5 separate regions of the Homo sapiens genome follow, and all the other regions are linked to region 1. Evidence: promoter capture Hi-C in 16 types of primary human blood cells and fetal thymus (Javierre and others, 2016). All regions are on one chromosome and are shown on one strand. The core of a region is centred on a gene start or on the middle of the fragment in contact, and the rest is flanking DNA. Distances in the headings are between cores, read along the strand shown. Region 1 holds the start of NEURL4 (neuralized E3 ubiquitin protein ligase 4). Region 2 overlaps BCL6B (BCL6B transcription repressor). Region 3 holds the start of FXR2 (FMR1 autosomal homolog 2). Region 4 has its middle 10 kb from the start of SLC16A11. Region 5 overlaps FXR2 (FMR1 autosomal homolog 2).

What was found. The method cuts DNA at HindIII sites, captures the fragments that hold promoters and counts their contacts. A CHiCAGO score of 5 or more calls a contact.
Region 2: a fragment that was not itself captured here is called in contact with the fragment with the promoter of NEURL4 in region 1 in 2 of 17 cell types (naive B cells and monocytes); the score reaches 7.4 in naive B cells.
Region 3: the fragment with the promoter of FXR2 here is called in contact with the fragment with the promoter of NEURL4 in region 1 in 9 of 17 cell types (fetal thymus, naive CD4 T cells, total B cells and 6 more); the score reaches 8.4 in fetal thymus.
Region 4: a contact is called between a fragment that was not itself captured here and the fragment with the promoter of NEURL4 in region 1, in 8 of 17 cell types (M0 macrophages, naive B cells, monocytes and 5 more). The highest score is 8.6, in M0 macrophages.
Region 5: a fragment that was not itself captured here is called in contact with the fragment with the promoter of NEURL4 in region 1 in 15 of 17 cell types (activated CD4 T cells, naive B cells, total CD4 T cells and 12 more); the score reaches 13.1 in activated CD4 T cells.

What each region holds. Positions count from the first base shown.
Region 1 is chr17:7,327,399-7,331,205 of GRCh38, forward strand. It overlaps NEURL4 (neuralized E3 ubiquitin protein ligase 4), which reads right to left and starts at 1,937. Exons shown (of 29, transcript NM_032442.3): 1 at 1,633-1,937; 2 at 42-486. The coding sequence starts at 1,914. RefSeq lists enhancers at 1,210-1,869, 1,852-2,146, 2,082-2,261, 2,292-2,341, 3,222-3,371 and a silencer at 1,642-1,881. The HindIII fragment of the contact is 8,367 bases long and covers 1-3,807 here.
Region 2 is chr17:7,023,722-7,027,528 of GRCh38, forward strand. It overlaps BCL6B (BCL6B transcription repressor), which reads left to right. Exons shown (of 9, transcript NM_181844.4): 2 at 1-129; 3 at 362-583; 4 at 680-1,042; 5 at 1,355-1,479; 6 at 2,736-2,900; 7 at 2,984-3,114; 8 at 3,229-3,366; 9 at 3,782-3,807. Among named protein-coding and RNA genes, the nearest start is that of BCL6B, 2.6 kb to the left of the region's middle. The HindIII fragment of the contact is 163 bases long and covers 1,605-1,767 here.
Region 3 is chr17:7,612,812-7,616,618 of GRCh38, forward strand. FXR2 (FMR1 autosomal homolog 2) reads right to left here and starts at 2,086. Exons shown (of 17, transcript NM_004860.4): 1 at 1,641-2,086. The coding sequence starts at 1,721. It also overlaps a transcript of SHBG not described here. RefSeq lists silencers at 1,641-2,170, 2,281-2,330. The HindIII fragment of the contact is 2,190 bases long and covers 869-3,058 here.
Region 4 is chr17:7,052,580-7,056,386 of GRCh38, forward strand. No RefSeq gene overlaps it. Among named protein-coding and RNA genes, the nearest start is that of SLC16A11, 10 kb to the left of the region's middle. The HindIII fragment of the contact is 959 bases long and covers 1,660-2,618 here.
Region 5 is chr17:7,592,954-7,596,760 of GRCh38, forward strand. It overlaps FXR2 (FMR1 autosomal homolog 2), which reads right to left. Exons shown (of 17, transcript NM_004860.4): 8 at 2,871-3,041; 9 at 1,726-1,804; 10 at 1,285-1,394; 11 at 965-1,051; 12 at 450-672; 13 at 31-228. Among named protein-coding and RNA genes, the nearest start is that of SOX15, 4.8 kb to the left of the region's middle. The HindIII fragment of the contact is 5,554 bases long and covers 1-3,807 here.

The DNA.
Region 1 (3,807 bases), core at 687-3,186:
CCGTCCCCACCCCACCACCACTGCCCTAGCTGTGTTCTCACCTTCATCTGCAGAGGTCCCCTGTTCAGCCAAGGCAGAGTCTTCAGTGGGGGCCAAGGGCTCGAGGGGAGGTGTGGGGATGGGAGTAGGGGGGCTGAAGCCTGGCTCAGGGGGTAGCACGGTGATCTGGGTGCACTTGCCATAAAGGTCCACGACGGCCCAGACACGAGGGGGCAGGCCTGTGGCAGCCACACCGCAATCCCGCCCATTCACCCAGAGCCGAAGCTCCCCAGCAACTGTGCGCTCCACGCCCACGCGGTCCCCTTCACCAAGCTGGTCCAGGTCCTGACCATACTCCTCCAACACAGAGCGTCCATCTCTCAGCACAGAGCAGCCCGACACTACCCACGAGCCCCCCTTCAGGCCCGTGGCACTGCTTGGAAAGTCCAGCACACTGGGGTCCAGCGCTGTCACCCCAATCTCAATGGAGCCGCTCCAGGAGTTGACCTGGGATAGGGGTATTGGACAGAGGCTTAGAATGGGCCACCCCCCATTCCACAGGCCACCATATCTTCCCACCTCTCAGACAGCTAGCTGGCTTTCTGTCTCTTGGAACACTAATCCAGAGATGCAGACAGTGATTTTCTGGACTCCGTCTTGGTAATTATTTGGGCTTTCCTTTAGCAACTCTGCTCTCTACTCAGTGTTTACTAAACCACTCCTTTCCAAGCCAAGCACAAATTCCTTGGTTCCAACCTCCTGCCTCCTCTAACTTTCCTTGTCTCTATGGCTCTCCAACCATCCAAATTCTCCTACTTCCTATACCCACACCTCTTGCTCTTGTGTATCATTCATTCCTTTCCCCTGGCCTAATTCTCTCCAAAGATCAGGCTCTACCCAGATTCAATCTCCTTCCAAGTTCTTTTTCTGTGAGCCTGGCCTCTTCACTGAATCACACACACCTCCCTCACCCTGGATCTTTCTCCTCACCTATCTTTCTGGCACAGCCTCTGTCCTTCAATGGTTTGTTCTGTTTTTTTGAGACGGAGTCTCACTCACTCTATTGCCCAGGCTGGAGTGCAATGGCATGATCTCAGCTCACTGCAACCTCTGCCTCCCGGGTTCAAGCCATTCTCCTGCCTCAGCCTCCAGAGTAGCTGGGATTACAGGCGCACGCCACCATGCCTGGCCAATTTTTGTATTTTTAGTAAAGACGGGGTTTCACCACGTTCACCAGGCTGGTCTCAAACCCCTGACTCTAGTGATCCGCCCGCCTCGGACTCCCAAAGTGCTGGGATTACGTTTGTTCGTTCCTTGGCATCTTTCTTCACTTGCCATCACATCTCTGACATCTCTCCATCCTCCATGCCCAAGAAATTGTACCAGGAGGTCTGTTCCCAGCCATTCTAGTGGGTTAGCCCTCGTGTCCCTTCCCTGGTTCTGGATCTTGAGAAAACTCAAGCTCTTAATGTCATCTTCAAACTCAATGTTTCTGCTTCATGCTGTCTTCCTGACCGCCCCCTGGTGCTCTATGGTCTTTCTGTTCCCTCTCGGTGCCCGGCAATGTGGGCTACCCTGGCTGTCCTACCCCGTCTCCCTCTAGACGCCTCCCACCACCCTCCACATCTCTGTTCCGCGGTACCAGCGCTGCACCTTGCGGTCGATGCGGACGGTGAAGACGCGTCCATCGCGCAAGGGTTCTCGGCTCAACACCAGCCCGTGGTTAAACTCCTGGCCCGGCTGCTGCCGCCGCGCCGTACGCCCACAGGCCGACAGGCTCACCAAGCGCCCAGTGCGCGGGTGCAGTTCCCCGCCGCTGCCCAGACCCCCGTTGGACCCCGGTCCTGAGCCGCTCCCGCTGGGGCCCCCACCCCCGCCCGGCCCCGGTCCAGGGCCTCCCCCAGAGCCCCCACTCCCACCCGACCCTGCCGCCATCTCCGCTGACACCGGGGCAGCGCGACAGCCGCGCTTGGCGGCACCGTGGCAACCGCGTCGGGCAGACAGTCCGAGGGATACGACCGGGGGGCTGAGGCCAGGTATGCTTTACGGCACTGCCGGGCAATGAAGCAGCCCGCGCTAGGAGCTGGGGACGACCACGATGAGAACAGAAGGACACGGGGTCGGGAGCCTCGCTTTACGGCATAGCGAGGTGACGGAGCGGCTCCGAGGGGGACGAAGACCTGGGCAGGGAGCTTTTGCGACAGTGGGAGAAAGACACGCCCACCGCAGGCATCTTTACGACGGTGGGGTGCTGGAGCCCAAACACTTTCTGCTTTGCGACAGCGGCACCGACGACCCCGCCCTCGCTAGGGGGCGGTGACACCTTGAAGCACTCGCTTTACGGCAAGAGGGGGTGTCTCCCCTCGGGATGCAGGCTCCAAAGCAGCGTGAGCCGAGTCTGGAGGACCCAGAGAAGCGGTAGTGAAAGTCTCTTCCCGCCACCCGACTGAGGACGAAGTGTCTTGCAACAGTGCGGCAGTCCTTCCACTTTGCCTCACACCTCTTCTGATTGGCTGAGCTAGCCGACTGGCGGGGGTGGGGGAAGCTCGCTGATAGTTCAAGTCAAGCCCAGCTTCAACTCCAACTCAACCAAACTATTCCATGTTAAGACCACAAAGAGTCTAAAGAAGTCCCGACAGGCCGTTTCAAGCGACAGCGTTGATGACCCCAAAAGATCTCCCTTAGAGCTATTAACAAGCCCCCTGCCCAACTCCCCGAAGCTCAAGCTCAGGCTGGAGGACCGTGAGGTCACAGTCGAAGCTCCTGGCCTGGCCCCCTGACTGGGATTGGCTGGTTTGGATGAGGGTGGTGATGGAGAAGGGCGGGAACAAATTGCCCAGACAAAGAAAATCTTTGGGTGGGACACAAAGGAAAGGGGCGAGCGGAGGGACCCCCAGCCCGAGTCTCTATATAGTCTTGATTCCGCCCGCCGCAGCTCTGGAGCAGGGGAGAAGTGGACCCGGGACTGAGCCCGAGCATCCCCGGCCGGCAGCGGTGGGGGCGGGGCCAGGGGCGGGGCTACGTGGAGCCGGGAGGCGGGTCAGGATCGCTGAGAGCAGCCCCCCAGTGGGGCCATGGAGAAGGTGGAGTCCCTAGGGGCTGCTGGCGGCCTCAACCGGGATTCCCCTGGAGGGGCAGCCAGAGGAGTGCCCGCAGCGGTCACAGGAGTCGAGGCAGGCGCTGGGCAGCCCTCCAGAGTAGTCTTGTTTCACGGTTCTGGGCCCCACGTGCACTCAGGGGGCTCCGTAACTCATAGTACTGGTTCAAGCTGTCCCTCCGGGGGGATAGTGGTCCTTGGTTCCGGGCCCAGTCAGCACCCAAGGGAGGCTGCGAACCACAGCCTTGGGTCTGGCAGGAACCCTGGTGGATTCAACATCCCCGGGCCTCGAACCAGTGTATCCAGGGCTTCCAGCCCCGGGCCTGGGGGACCTGCAGGGCAAGAGGTAAACAGCCCCGGGTGCAGTCCGCACTCTGGGCCAACTTGCTTGAACCCCCAAAACTCCCAACAGGACCGGCCCCGGAGCATCCTACGAAAGAACAGCTCCAACTTGATGCAGAAATCCCCCAATGTGGAGAAGTAAGGAGCCCAGCTCTGCGGGCAGCCAGCCCAGAGTCGGGAGGGTTCAGGACACCTGAGGGTGGGAGCCAGAAGGAAAGGGGCAGAGCCTTAAGAATGAAGAGTTAGAGTAGGTGAGGGCAATTGAGTGGGAAGTCCGAGGTTCCAGGCTTTCGGGAGAAGAGCAGGTGCCCCATAAACCGTGGCTGCACAGGACTGTGATTATCATTAAGTCTGACCCCATCCCCAGCCTCAACAAGGTATAAGAAACC
Region 2 (3,807 bases), core at 436-2,935, 300 kb before region 1:
CACTCGCCACTCCTCCGACGTGCTGGGCAACCTCAACGAGCTGCGCCTGCGCGGGATCCTCACTGACGTCACGCTGCTGGTTGGCGGGCAACCCCTCAGAGCACACAAGGCAGTTCTCATCGCCTGCAGGTTCGAGGGGTGGGGCCTGGGGCGGGGCCAAATGGGAAAGGGGTGGGACCACAGGGCCGTTGAGAGGGAATCCGAAGCCAAGTCTTTCAGAAGCAGGAGGCGGAGCGTCCCAGAATTGGGGGCGGGGTGATAGTGAGGAGGCGGGACTTTTTCAGGGGGCGGGGCTTCCTGAAGCTGCGCATGTCTCCCTTGGTTCCCCAGCCCCCAAAGGACTTATCTGCTCTCTCTCTAGTGGCTTCTTCTATTCAATTTTCCGGGGCCGTGCGGGAGTCGGGGTGGACGTGCTCTCTCTGCCCGGGGGTCCCGAAGCGAGAGGCTTCGCCCCTCTATTGGACTTCATGTACACTTCGCGCCTGCGCCTCTCTCCAGCCACTGCACCAGCAGTCCTAGCGGCCGCCACCTATTTGCAGATGGAGCACGTGGTCCAGGCATGCCACCGCTTCATCCAGGCCAGGTGAGGGACCCTGGCTCGGCGTTCTCTGTGGGTGAGGTGTTAAGGGCAAAGGCAGAGTTTAGGAAATGGCACTAACGTTCATCACACTTTCCCCAGCTATGAACCTCTGGGCATCTCCCTGCGCCCCCTGGAAGCAGAACCCCCAACACCCCCAACGGCCCCTCCACCAGGTAGTCCCAGGCGCTCCGAAGGACACCCAGACCCACCTACTGAATCTCGAAGCTGCAGTCAAGGCCCCCCCAGTCCAGCCAGCCCTGACCCCAAGGCCTGCAACTGGAAAAAGTACAAGTACATCGTGCTAAACTCTCAGGCCTCCCAAGCAGGGAGCCTGGTCGGGGAGAGAAGTTCTGGTCAACCTTGCCCCCAAGCCAGGCTCCCCAGTGGAGACGAGGCCTCCAGCAGCAGCAGCAGCAGCAGCAGCAGCAGTGAAGAAGGACCCATTCCTGGTCCCCAGAGCAGGTACAGAGTCTAGAACCTCAAGAATTTGTCAGAGCTGGCCTCAGCTAGAAGACAGAGTCATTGGGCCTTGATGGTCAGGAGGAAGGGAGATAGGTGGTGGGTTTCAGAGACACTAGCTCACCTTAAGGAGCTGGCCAGAGACCAGGTTTATTCAGCAGGGTGGCACTTGGGCAGTACAATGGATGTGGCTCATTGGTCAACAATATTGGCTCACCCTGAGAGGGCAGGCCTTTGGCTCCAAATTTCCCAGGAGAGAACCCCCACCCCTCAACCGTACAATCTCTTTTAACCCTTTCCTTGCCATCTGCCTAGGCTCTCTCCAACTGCTGCCACTGTGCAGTTCAAATGTGGGGCTCCAGCCAGTACCCCCTACCTCCTCACATCCCAGGCTCAAGACACCTCTGGATCACCCTCTGAACGGGCTCGTCCACTACCGGGTAAGAGCCCCTCTTTCTTGGCTTTTCTCCCGTGACTGCTCCAGGCAAGTTTGTGCCAAAAACTCTCCCAGAAAGGCCTATTCCAATGGTTCCTAAACTTTATTACAAATTAGAATCACCTAGGAAGCTTTTAAACTCCCACTGCCCAGGTCACACTCCATAGATTAAAATATCTGGACATGGGACGAGTCATCAGTATTTTTCTAAAGCTCTCCCAGTGCTTCCAATGAGCAGCAAAGTTTGAGAATTTCTGGCCTATCCCCTTTCAGAGCTGAATGGTCAGCCCAAAGCTTGTCAGGGCCTCTCTGGCAGGCTGTCATTCAGAGTGGTGCAAGTGAGGAGGAGATTTTAGCCAAGCATGGTGGCTCATGCCTGTAATGCCAGCACTTTGGGAGGCCAGTGCAGGAGGATCACTTGAATCCAAGAGCTCAAGGCCAGCCTGGGCAACATAGTCAGATGTGGTCTCTACAAAAAATAAAAATGAAAATTAGCCGGGCACGGTGGTGCACACCTGTAGTCCCAGCTACTCAGGAAGCTAAAGTGGAAGGATCGTCTGAACCCGGGAGGTGGAGATTGCAGTGAGCCGAGATCACACCACTGCACTCCAGCATAGGCAACACAGCAAGACTCTGTCTCAAAAAAAAAAAAAAAAAAAAAAACAGGAGGAGAAACAAAACTCCTCCCACTAGCAGGGGCCTCCACCTACCACCACTGCTTTTATTTTATTTATTTATTTTTTTGAGACGGAGTCTCACTCTGTGGCCAGGCTGAAGTGCAGTGCCGCAATCTCGGTTCACTACAACCTCCACATCCCAGGTTCAAGCGATTCTCCTGCCTCAGCTTCCCGAGTAGCTGGGACTACAGGCACGTGCCACCACACCCAGCTACTTTTTGTATTTTTAGTAGAGACGAGGTTTCACCATGTTGGCCAGGATGGTCTCCATCTCTTGACCTTGTGATCCGACCGCCTCGGCCTCCCAAAGTGCTGGGATTACAGTCGTGAGCCACCGTACCTGGCCCCCACCACTGCTATTGAAGAGGAGATTAGCTGAGTACTCGAGTCAGACAGATGTGCAGTCAGATCTGGCTCATCTTACTATCTTCTTACTTGGCCTTGAGCAAGTCAAACCAGCCCCAGAAGTCTTAACAATAAATTGGGAAACAGAAAGCCTGCTACTGTGTGGTTTGAGGATTCAGTAGTACCTAGATAGCCCTCATTAATAACTATGGTTGCCGTCACCCATTCCCCTTCCCAGGAAGTGAATTTTTCAGCTGCCAGAACTGTGAGGCTGTGGCAGGGTGCTCATCGGGGCTGGACTCCTTGGTTCCTGGGGACGAAGACAAACCCTATAAGTGTCAGCTGTGCCGGTCTTCGTTCCGCTACAAGGGCAACCTTGCCAGTCATCGTACAGTGCACACAGGTAGGGGAAGAGAGGGCCCTGGCCTTCAAGCCCACAGCTGTCCTAGGGCAAAGTCCCTGATCTCCCATGTTCTCTGCCTCCAGGGGAAAAGCCTTACCACTGCTCAATCTGCGGAGCCCGTTTTAACCGGCCAGCAAACCTGAAAACGCACAGCCGCATCCATTCGGGAGAGAAGCCGTATAAGTGTGAGACGTGCGGCTCGCGCTTTGTACAGGTACGGAGCCAGCCTCCAAGTGGCTTCCAAGGCAAACCTGCAAGAGGTGGGGTGGGCCAATAGGGAGGGTTCTGTTCCTCCCAGAGGCAGGACTTGAAGTCTCCTCCCTCCCAGGTGGCACATCTGCGGGCGCACGTGCTGATCCACACCGGGGAGAAGCCCTACCCTTGCCCTACCTGCGGAACCCGCTTCCGCCACCTGCAGACCCTCAAGAGCCACGTTCGCATCCACACCGGAGAGAAGCCTTACCACGTGGGTACCCAACCTGGCCTGCCCACTGCCTTAGAATTACCTCTCCTTTGCCTAGGGGTGGGCTCTGAGAGGTGCGGGCCTGGCTGTCCCTAGATCTCTTAGAAATGAGCGGTGGCCGGAAGAGTCCAAGCAAATAAGGGGTGGAGGCTGGGAGTCAGGATGGGCAGGTATAGAAGTGATGCTCCTGGGCTGAGCACTGTTTTCTCAGAGAGGAGCTGAGAAGTGGGAAAACCTTTGCTAAATAAGGCGGGGCCTATCCCCTCAGCCACCCCTGAGGATTTGGGAGGATGTGAGAGTCAAAGAGCTGATCTTCCGCTGGATAGTTCCCACCTGGGAGAGCTGGACGGCCGCCCGGCTCAACACCTAAAAGGTGATTGTGGATGGGGCAGGGCCTGACTTGGCTGTCCTCCCACAGTGCGACCCCTGTGGCCTGCATTTCCG
Region 3 (3,807 bases), core at 836-3,335, 290 kb after region 1:
CAGTGAAACCCCGTCTCTACTAAAAATACAAAAAAATAGCCGGGCATGGTGGTGGGCACCTGTAGTCCCAGCTACTCGGGAGGCTGAGGCAGGAGAATGGCGCGAACCAGGGAGGCGGAGCTTGCAGTGAGCCAAGATCGCACCACTGCACTCCAAGCCTGGGCAACAGGGCGAGACTCCATCTCAAAAAAAAAAAAAAAAAAAAAAAAAATGACTACAATGCACTTAGCAACTGAAGTACAGGCAGAAACCACCCAAGAGAAATTACAAGACCCTCTGCAGTTATAGAAAAATATGACTTAGAGAAGGAGTCAAAGAAAGACATTTCCAAGGGCATGAGAAACTAGAGAGGACTACAGTGGGGGAAAAAGGCCTGAGGGGAACTGAAGGAAAGGGGGAAGGGGGATCCACTCTTAACAAGTGATGCCATGGGAAGGTATCTCTTCCCCAGCTCCCCAGGGTGAAATCAAAGAATGAGACAGAAATCAGGAGAGTCTCTAGGACAATTCCAGGCATCAAATCCAAGAGGTTCAGAATACCAACAGTCACACAAAGAAAAACTCTTGGGAGGCAAGAAAGGGCTCTCTCTGGCTTAATCTAAATGGGAAAAAAATGTCCTAGAAAATAGATTCAGAGCAGATAAGGAAGGTGGTATTATAAGGAGTTCTAAGGAACCAAATCCTGGGCAAAGGGGGAGGTGAAATAAGGAAGGGTCTTTGAAAGATGATCCCGTCTTCCAAAAAAGGTTGTCAGATTCCCGAACTGGGATAGTTGGCCAAGAGTCTTCAAGAAGTGGAAATCTTAAGATAAACAGAAGGGAACCTCATAAGCTTCCTTTCAGAGATCCTTTTAGAGATTATGACTATGAAGCTTACATGCCTCAAGACGAAGAAACTATATGAATGACCTGAAGGTATCTGAGGTCTAAGTGAGACCTCAAATCCATTCCTGAGTAGAATGGTAGAGCAGTGGGTCTTGAGATCAAGGTGTGGTGGGGAGAGAGACTTGCGAAAGATGCCACCTTATGGCTGGCTGGGAAGCAACTTGACTGATCCAACCCAGGGTTCCTGAGGTCAAAGATGCCAAACGTCGTAAATGGATCTGACCATTTCTCCTTGGCTTGGGAACCGGAATATAAGATGAAAGTGGGGTGAGTGTTCCAGAGCCAGTAGGCAGAGGCCTCTCTGAGGAAGATGAAAGGATCTTTTACGGGACAGAGGGCCTTCCCAAAGGGACCGTGTGGAAGAAAGACAATTCTCCATGTGCTTGGATCGTGGGGAAGATGTGATTAAGGTCTAAGGTATGTCTTCCACCAGACAACGGACACAGTCAATTAGAAGCTGGGTAAAGGGGTCTCTCCTGCGGAGCGGGGAGCGCCAAGCCAGGGACAATAATGGCCTGAAGTTCATTCTCCCGGAGATGGGGGTAGAAGCAGGTGCAGGTGCCTTAGAGGGGTCAAAAATAAGAGGAACAGGGTTCACTCTAAGCGGTCTCCCAGGGAAGGCTGCGGGTTGGAGCAAGGGTCCAAGATTCTAAGGGCCAGGACTCAGCTCCAGAAGCTCGATCCCGCCCCACGCGTTCCTGCTCCGGCCAGGGGAGGGGGCTAAGGACCGGCGTCCCCAGTCGGCGCGCCGTCTCACCTTGTAGAAGGCCCCGTTGGAGCCGCGCACCTCGACGGGCAGTCCCGGCTCCACATCCCCCCCAGAGGCCAGGCCGCCCATGGCGCCGCCACCGCCTCCGACTCCCCCGGCGGCGGCTGCAGCAGCAGTCTGAGTGCGGGCCGGGCCAGGCCCCCGGCGTCTCCCCGGAGGAGGAGCCGGAGGGGGAGCCGCGGGGGGCGGGAGCCGGGCCGGCCCCACGGCGGCCCTGCCACAGCCAACGAGCAGGGGGCCGGGGCCGGGCCGCTCCCCGTCCGCCGCCGCCGCCTTGGTCTCCGCCACCGTGAGGGAAACGGCCGCCGCCGCCGCTGCCTTCGTCACCTCAGCTTCCGCCCGCCGCCGCCCCCGCTGCTGCCTCAGTCCCGGGACCCGCTGCTGCCGCTGCCGCTCCACAGCCTCCACCTCCCCCTGCCACCGCCGCCTACTGCGCAGGCGCACCGGGCACCCGCCCGCTGCGCGCGGGGCCCCGAGGGCCACCGCGCAGGCGTCAAGGTTAGAGCCCCAGCTAGCGCCAGCTAGCGCATCGGGGCTTCCACATTCCCTTTCACTCTCTCACTCCCCCTCCTGGTCGCTTGCTAGCGCTTGCGCAGAACAAGATTAGCCTTCTTTCTTCACCGCTCCACCGCCCAGCCACCCCGTCTCTTCCTTTCCCCGCCCCACAACACTGAGAACCAACCAATCAGGGGGAGGGAGGGGCCGGGCTCGCTCAGTCCGATTGGGCGGCGTCCGCACAGTCACACAGCGCTCAGGCCACACCCACTCCGCCGCCGCTGGCCCCACCGGGCTTGGACAAGTTAGGGATGGGCATGCGCCTGAACGACTGCTTGGTCACTTTCCCCACCTTTGTCTTTCTTGGTGCGCACGCTCCAAAAAGAAAAAAAAAAGAAGAGGAGTCGCCGCAAGGAAAAAGGTGCTTGGTGCGCACGCGCTGAGCTTTACCCTCTTCGCGTATGCATCGCCGATATTTTAAGAATCTGTAACTCTCTACTGTAGTAGATTTAACAGTCATGGCTCTTACCTTGAAGAGATTGTGATACAATGAAAGTTTTGGCCGGGCGCGGTGGCTCACGCCTGTAATCCCAGCGCTCTGGGAGGCCGAGGCAGGTGGATCACCTGAGGTCCTCGGATCACCTGAGGTCAGGGGTTCGAGACCAGCGTGGCCAAAATGGTGAAACCCACCCCCCCCCCCACCCCGCATCTAATAAAATACAAAAATTAGCCGGGCGTGGTGACACGCGCCTGTAATCCCAGATACTCGGGAGGCTGAGGCAGGAGACTACCTTGAACCTGGGAGGCAGAAGTTGCAGTGAGCCAAGATCGCACCATTGCACTCCAGCCTGGGCGACAGAGCAAGACTCAGTCTCAAAAAAAAAAAAAAAAGAAAGAAAGAATAGAAAGAAAGCTTTAAGAATAGTTTCAGACGGGCGCTGTGGCTCACTCCTGTAATCCCAGCACTTTAGGAGGCTCAGGCGGTGGATCACTTGAGCCCAAAAGTTTGACACCAGCCTCAACAGGGCGAAACCCTGTTTCTACTAAAAATACAAAAATTAGGACGGGCGCGGTGGCTCAGGCCTGTAATCCCAGCACTTTGGGAGGCCGAGATCACGGGCGGGCGGATCACGAGGTCAGGAGATGGAGACCATTCTGGCCAACATGGTGAAACCTCGTCTCTACTAAAATACAAAAAATTAGCCGTGGTAGTTCCAGCTACTCGGAAGGAGTCCCAGCTACTCAGGAGGCTGAGGCAGGAGAATCGCTTGAACCTAGGAAGGTGGAGGTTGCAGTGAGTGGATATCATGCCACCACACTCCAGCCTGGGCAATGAGTGAAATTTCTTCTTTAAAAATAATAATAATGGCAGGGCGCGGTGGCTCATGCCTATAATCCCAACACTTTGGGAGGCCGAGACGGGCGGATCACGAGGTCAGGAGATCGAGACCATCCTGGCTAACACGGTGAAACCCCATCTCAACTAAAAATACAAAAAAAAAAAAAAAAAAAAAAAATTAGCTGGGCGTGGTGGCGGGCGCCTGTAGTCCCAGCTACTCGGGAGGCTGAGGCAGGAGAATGGCGTGAACCCAGGAGGCGGAGGTTGCAGTGAGCGGAGATCGTGCCACTGCACTCCAGCTGGGGCGACAGAGCGAGACTC
Region 4 (3,807 bases), core at 889-3,388, 270 kb before region 1:
CTCTACTAAAAGTACAAAAATTATCCAAATGTGGTGGCACGCATCTGTAATCCCAGCTACTTGGGAGGCTGAGGTGGGAGAATCGCTTGAACCAGGGAGGCAGAGGTTGCAGTGAGCTGAGATCGCGCCACTGCATTCCAGCCTGGATGATGGGGTGAGACTCCATCTCAAAAAAAAAACTAATAATAATAAGGTGGAAATTTTCTTAAAGGCTTCAGATGCAAGAAGGCCAAAAATATCCTAAAACTGTGTAAGCCCAACTAAAATGGATTATTAGAATAGGAATGAGAATCCAATCGGACCTGGTGATTTTTTTTTTTTTTTTTTTTTTTTTTTGAGATGGAGTCTCCTCTGTCGCCCAGGCTGGAGTGCAGTGGCACGATCTCGGCTTACCACAACCTCCGCCTCCCGGGTTCCAGCGATTCTCCTGCCTCAGCCTCCTGAGTAGCTGCGACTACAGGCACCCGCCACCATGCCCGGCTAATTTTTGTATTTTTAGTAGAGACGGGGTTTCACCATATTGGCCAGGCTGGTCTCGAACTCCTGACCTCGTGATCCACCCACCTCGGCCTCCCAAAGTGCTGGGATTACAGGCATGAGCCACTGTGCCCAGCCAGACCTGGTGAGTTATTAAAAGCACAGTCCCTGAGTTCCGACTCCCACCATTTCCAGGCATCTATAAAAAGGGGGCAATGCTTCAAAGGATTGTTGGTGAGACTTCAGTGAAGTAAAGCTTGGGAAGGACCCAGCACAACTCCAGGCACAGGGCAGGCGTCCTACAAATGTAGGTTCCCATCCATTTCATTCCATCCCATTTTCTAGCCACCGGTAGCCACCCTTTCATCTCTACGCCAGTCCAATTCTACTCCAAGTCACTATGCCCCTCCTGTCTGGATTTGTGAGGGGCAGTCAGACCAGAAGGGGCCAGAAGGTGATATTTGTCATCTCCCTGCTGCTATACCAACCTCTCAGCTACCTGAGTTTTTTGGGTCCCTTTGTCTGCCTTCCCAGCCTCAGCCTGAGACCTGGGCATCTGACTTGAAGGATGCAGGCTCTTAGTGGACATGGTAACCCACATCAGCCCTTAGGGCTGCAGCAGCCCTGCCTGGCCAGAGTCTCTACCTCCCCAAGGAATATCAACCAGGACCAGAAGCCAAGGCAGGAGGGGACAGGAGGTCAGATAACAGGTTTTCTGCAGGGATGTAAATTACACATCTTGGAGGATCTGACATATGCAAGGCAGAGTTTTGGGGGCCCAGTAAGCAAATGGTGCCTGTTTTCTTGCCCCAAGGCAGAAATGCCTTTGTGAACACTGGGAGGAGTCGCGTGGGGGCTAAGCCCTGAGAAAGTCCCAAAGTCATAGAAGGGCCCAGACGCTGAAGAGGCTGCAACTGGCTGCAGTGGATGCCACACAAGCCTCTTCCTGTCCTTGTGCAGGTGGATCTTGTCCCTCCCAGTGCGTTCCTTTCTGTACCTCTTGTTGGCCATGAATCTCCTTTGCCCCTGCCCACATCTCCATGCCATTTCCTCTGCAAAGCTTTCTCCTGCCTCTCCCCTACTGTCAAAACGTTTTAAATGCTGGGCAGCATCTCTTCTTTAGGGTTCCTTCCCTCTATCCCATTCAAAGAGCCATACCCAGCTTTAGCTACCTCCATCTCAAGCTTTCATCCTATCTTTCTCTCCTCCATTCACAATCAGGAGTCCCTTGCAATGAGACCGATTCTGGTTTAAAACACATTTGTGAGGGACGGGTGTCATGGTCTCACCTGGAGGGAAATCACACCTGCACAGGCCTACAGAGAGGTGAGGCGGGGCCTCGGGCATCTCATCAACTGGGTACGTAGAAAGAGGACTCTGATTTTTTTTTTTTTAGATGGAGTCTCATTCTGTCACCCAGGCTGGAGTGCAGTGGCGCAATCTCTGCTCACTGCAACCTCCGCCTCCCAGGTTCAAGCAATTCGCCTGCCTCAGCCTCCCGAGTAGCTGGGATTACAGGCACATGCCGCCATGCCCGGCTAATTTTTTGTATTTTAGTAGAGACAGGGATTCACCGTGTTACCCAGGCTGGTGGTGAACTCCCAAGCTCAGGTAATCCACCTGCCTCGGCCTCCCAAAGTGCTGGGATTACAGGCTTAAGCCACCATGCCCGGCCGAGCACCCTGATTTATGGGTAATCAGCTTCCCCTTCCCTGGGCCCAGGGATCTGGGAGATAGGAAGTTGATGCCACCGCCCCAAGAGCTGATGTTTCAGGACTGTGGCCAGTGAGTGCTGAACACAGTGAGCAGCAGAGTGGGCTGACACCTGAGCTCCAGGACTCATAAAGCCCCGCTGTTCTTGCATGGCATGTGGTTTCTGGGTTTATTTCCCTGTTGTCCTTGAGGAGAGTATATTTATTCCCTAAGTATGCAGGGCTTAGGGCTAAAAGCATTCCCCATGCTTACAGAAATGCTAGGGATATGAAAAAGTGTACCGATTTCCAAATACAAAAGGCAAACTTAAAAATCTAAAGTAATGAATATTAAAGCGTTTTTAAAAATGTCTACAAAACATAATATTAGTCCATTTCTTTGTTAAATTTCATGTTCCTAAATTTTCATTACATTGGAAAACAATTTGAAGCTTTTTTTCACTTTGCAGGATTTCCTAAATGTTTATCGTGATTGCTGAGAAATCAGAGCCAATCATAGATTCACTGAGTTTCTTATAGACAAACAATCCTTTAAAAGAATAAACGTCCTTTTAAGATTTTAAACGGCAAAAAATCTTAGAAATCTTTTAAATTTTTGGGCCGGGCACGGTGGCTCACGCTTGTAATCCCAGCACTTTGGGAGGCCGAGGTGGGCGGATCACGAGGTCAGGAGATCGAGACCATCCTGGCTAACAGGGTGAAACCCCATCTCCACTAAAAACACAAAAAAATTAGCCGGGTGTAGTGGCGGGCACCTGTAGTCCCAGCTACTCGGGAGGATGAGGCAGGAGAACGGAGTGAACCCAGGAGGCGGAGCTTGCAGTGAGCAGGGATCGCACCACTGCACTCCAGCCTGGGCGACAGAACAAGACTCCGTCTCAAAAAAAAAAAAAAGAAATCTTTTAAATTTTTAATTGTAAAAATATATTTAGTGTGGAATGTGAGTGTATTTTAGTATATGTTATTAAGAGGCAACATAACATGGTGGGACAAACACGAACCCTGGAACCAGATTGTCTGGGTTCAAGCCCTGGCTTTGGTACTTACTGGCTATATAACCTAGAGCAAGTTATTCAACCTCTCTTTGCAATAGTTCCCTCATCCCCAAAGCAAATTATAATAGTTCCTACTTTTGAGGAAAAAAAAGATGGTAATTGCTATGATCTTAATGTTTGTGCCTCTCCCCGTCAAATTCATATGTTGAAATCTAATCCCAGGCCGGGTCCGGTGGCTCACGCCTGTAATCCCAACACTTTGGGAGGCCGAGGTGGGCGGATCACCTGAGATCAGGAGTTCGAGATCAGCCTGACCAACATGGAGATACTCTGTCTCTACTAAAAATACAAAAAAATTAGCCGGGCACGGTGGCACATGCCTGTAATCCCAGCTACTCGGGAGGCTGAGGCAGGAGAATTGCTTAAACCTGGGAGGCGGAGGTTGTGGTGAGCCGAGATCATGCCATTGCACTCCAGCCTGGGCAACAAGAGCGAAACTCCATCTCAAAAAAAAAAAAAAAAAATCTAGTCCCCAATGCGAAGTATTAAGAGGTGGGTCCTTTAGGAGGTGACTGAGGCCTTCATGAGGATGAAGACCTTGTGAATGAGATTGAGTGCCCTTA
Region 5 (3,807 bases), core at 480-2,979, 270 kb after region 1:
CCCATATTCATGAACCCAGCTGTCTGGTACCTGAGCTAATAGATGAAGAATTGTATCTCGAAGTGGGCCGGGGGGCAGGTGGGGGTCCCCTACCCCGGCCCCCAGTCGGCCGCCTCCGGCTTTCTTCCCCTCGGGTTGGGGGATCCCTGTCGCCAGGCCCAGCTCGGTTGGGCTCCTCTCTCTTCTCTGACTCAGTCTCTGAAGCTGTAGACACATCTGAGCTGGGGCCTGAAGAACACAATGGGATTTATTCACGGCCATTCATCCCACCTCAGGATCCATCACATCCCCCAAACTGGAAGAATTCTCCTTCTCACTCACAAGCCTCCCAGCCAATCAATCACTTTTTCATCATCTCCATTCCAGATTTCCCCAAACTTCCATCCAGACCTCTGCCTCTACCCACAAGCCCTGCCACTCCTTGCCTCCTGTTCCCATAACTGTCTCACCATAGGCAGGACCGCCTGTCCTCCGGCCACGGCCACGGCCCCCATAGCTGCCCCCATAGGTTCGAGTCGCATGGAGGGAGGAGGAGGAGCTCTCATCAGTGCTATATCCAGCCTTGTCGCTGCCACCGCTGCCCCGCCCACTCCCAGGAGGGCGAAAGCCCAGCCCAATCTGCCGAAGCTGCTCATCAATTTGTAGCCTCTCCAAGCGAAGCTGCTCTACCTCCTGGTTGGGTAAAAGATGGAAGAAGGGGAAGGAGAAATAAGATCAGTGCCTTGCTTCATGCTTCTGCACCCTGACTGTCCCTCTATATCTAACCTCTCAGGAATGCAGGGAGAAGGAAGACACTGGCTAAACAAGGAAAATTCTGGGACCCAACCCTATAGCCCCAAATTTCCACAGATGTTTTCTGTTCTACACGGAGAGACAAACAGAGAACCAAAATCCCTGAGCTGACCCCCACAGCAGTCTTAGTTCCCTTTTCACACCCAGCATTTTTCTCTCCCGGCCTGGGTACCTGCAGGTAGGAGAGGTGATACTCCAGCAAAGCCTGGGCATTGCTGATGTTCTCTCGGGTGCCAACAAAAATGAAGGGAACCATTCCCTAGAGAACAGAGAGCAGAAACGATGGATCAGAAAGGAAAATGAAATGGAAGGATTAACGCCGCCCAGTCTCCTAGGGGAGCCTGCCCAGTGGGATCATTCTGGGCTCTAAATCTACTAGTGTTAAACAACTTTCCGTACTCCACCCTCTCAAAGAACAATCCCAGCCCTCAGAGGACAATCCCATTTACTTCTGGAAACCAATCTCTATGCCCACTTGCCCCGTACCCATACCTCCTCCCTGGGGTTCTTCTTGTCATTATCACCTTCCACTCGAACCCTCACCACACCAGATTTATCCACAATCTCCTGGATCACTTTCCCGTTCTTTCCAATCACTTTGCCTGGAATAGGTAAATGAGGAATTCAGCCTTTTATTTTTTTTAAGGAAATAAGAATAAAGCTGATACACCGTCTTCCAGCCTCATTTTCTTTATATGGATTCCATTTACTTCATTCTCCTGCTTCTAGGTTTCTGATGTGTTTTTACAGGACAAAATGTTACAATCCCTAGAAATTTATTCTTTCATTTTTATCACTCCCATTACAGACTGTTTCTCTGTCCTTGTGAAACTGGGAGTCCACAGGGAGGTGCCAATCCTGGATAAAAGCTCAGAATCACTGTAGAGAATCTTGATTCTGACCTCTAACTGTATATACACACCACCAACTCACCAACCAGGTTCCTGGGCACTTGCACTGAGTCCTCAGAAAACTCAAGGTAGCTTCGGGCCTGTCGGCAAGCCTCGGGAGTCTAAAGGAAGAACAGCAGGGAGTTGTTACTAAAACAGAAGACCAGCTGGATGTGGTGGCTCACGCCTGTAATCCCAGCACTTTGGGAGGCTGGAGGCAGGTGGATAAATTGAGCTCAAGAGTTCAAGACTAGCCTGGGCAATATGGTGAAACGCCATCTCTACTAAAAATACAAAAATCAAAATACAAAAATACTAAAATACTAAAAATACAAAATTGGTGGCTCACGTCTCTAATCCCAGCTACTCCGGAGGCTGAGGCAGGAGATTTCTTGAACCCAGGAGGCAGAGGTTGCAATAAGCTGAGATTGTGCCACTGCACTCTAGCCCGGGCAACAGAGTGAGTTAGACTCCATCTCATAAAAAAAAAAAATTAAACAAATAAATAACTTAAAAAAAAAAACAGAGGACCTTGGCCAGGCACAGCGGCTCACACCCATAATCTCAACAGTTTCGGAGGCTAAGAAGGGAGGATTGCTTGAGGCTAGGAGTTAACAACCAGCTTGGGCAACAGAGATCTGGTCTATTTTTTTGATTTTTTGGTCTCACTCTATTGACTATGTTGCCCAGGTTGGTTCAGTGGCACCATCATGGTGTACTGCAGCCTTGACTTTCCAGGCTCAAGTGATCCTCCTGCCTCCGCCTCCCAAGTAGCCAAGTAGCTGGGGCCACAGATGCATGCCACCACGCTCAGTTAACGTTTTTTGGTTTTTGGTTTTTTTGGGGGGTAAAGACAGGGTCTCTCTATGTTGTCCAGGTTGTTCTCCAACTCCCAGGCTCAAGTGATCCTCCCCTCTATCTTCCCATTTCAGCCTCCCAAGTACCTGCGACTACAGGTACGCACCACTACTTCCAGCTAATTTTTAAATTTTTGTAGAGATTGGGTCTCACTATGTTGCACAGGCTGGTCTCAAACTCCTAGGCTCAAGTGATCCTCTCACTTTGACCTCCGAAGGTGCTGGGATTACAGGTGTGAGCCACTGTGCCCAGTTTGAGGCTTATTTTCTACTTCGGCCTCTCTTCCCTCTATCCCCTAAGAGACCCAGAAGAAAGACATCCTTTGCTGACCTCCCCATAGATGCGGAAAGTGCAGGTCTCTTCACCCAACTCAATGGCGGTCACCCCAGGTACTTTTCGGGCCTGCTGGATGTTGGCACCGTGAGTCCCAATTGCCAGTCCCATCAGGTCCTCTCGCACTGTGAACTCCTCTTGGAAGGCTGCTGCCAACTGCTTGCTTGTCTGAAAGGAAAAGTCACTGTAGGAATCATGGTGGTAGAATCTCACAGTCCCAGGCACACGACCCTTTGCATAACTTAAATAAGGAAAACTGTGTGATATTAATAGAAAGCTAGAACCACTCTGGAGTCCGCGGACCACGAGGACCTGTGTGGAAAGGTCAGGAACTTTTTGTTTTTTCTTTGAGATGGCGTCTCGCTCTGTCGCCCAGGCTGGAGTGCAGTGGCGCGATCTCAGCTCACTGCAACCTCCGCCTCTCGACTTCAAGTGATTCTCATGCCTCGGCCTCCTGAGTAGCTACGACTACAGGTGTCCACCACCATGCCTGGCTAATTTCTGTATTTTTAGTAGAGACAAGGTTTCACCATGTTGGCCAGGCTGGTCTCAAACTCCTGACCTCAGGTGATCCGCCCGCCTCAGCCTCCCAAAGTGCTGGGATTACCGGCATAAGCCACCACGCCCGGCCAAGGTCAGGAACTTTTAATTCCACTCCTTCCAAATACCAGTGGTTTGTGGGGGAGGAAAGGTAAAGAGGGCAGAGTTTGGACTGGGACACACCGAAGTTCTGGATTTGGCCCTAACAGTATCTGTCCCTAAGAGTATCTATCTGTGTGATCTTAAACAAAACATACTCTGCCTCTTGTGTCATCTGCTAAGTGATTATATCCAACTTATCTTATTCTCAAGACTAGCAAGAGGATTAGACAAGGCTGGTGTGAAAGTACTTCTCACAAGGTACATGCAAGTGTAAGGAACTCTTACCTTAATC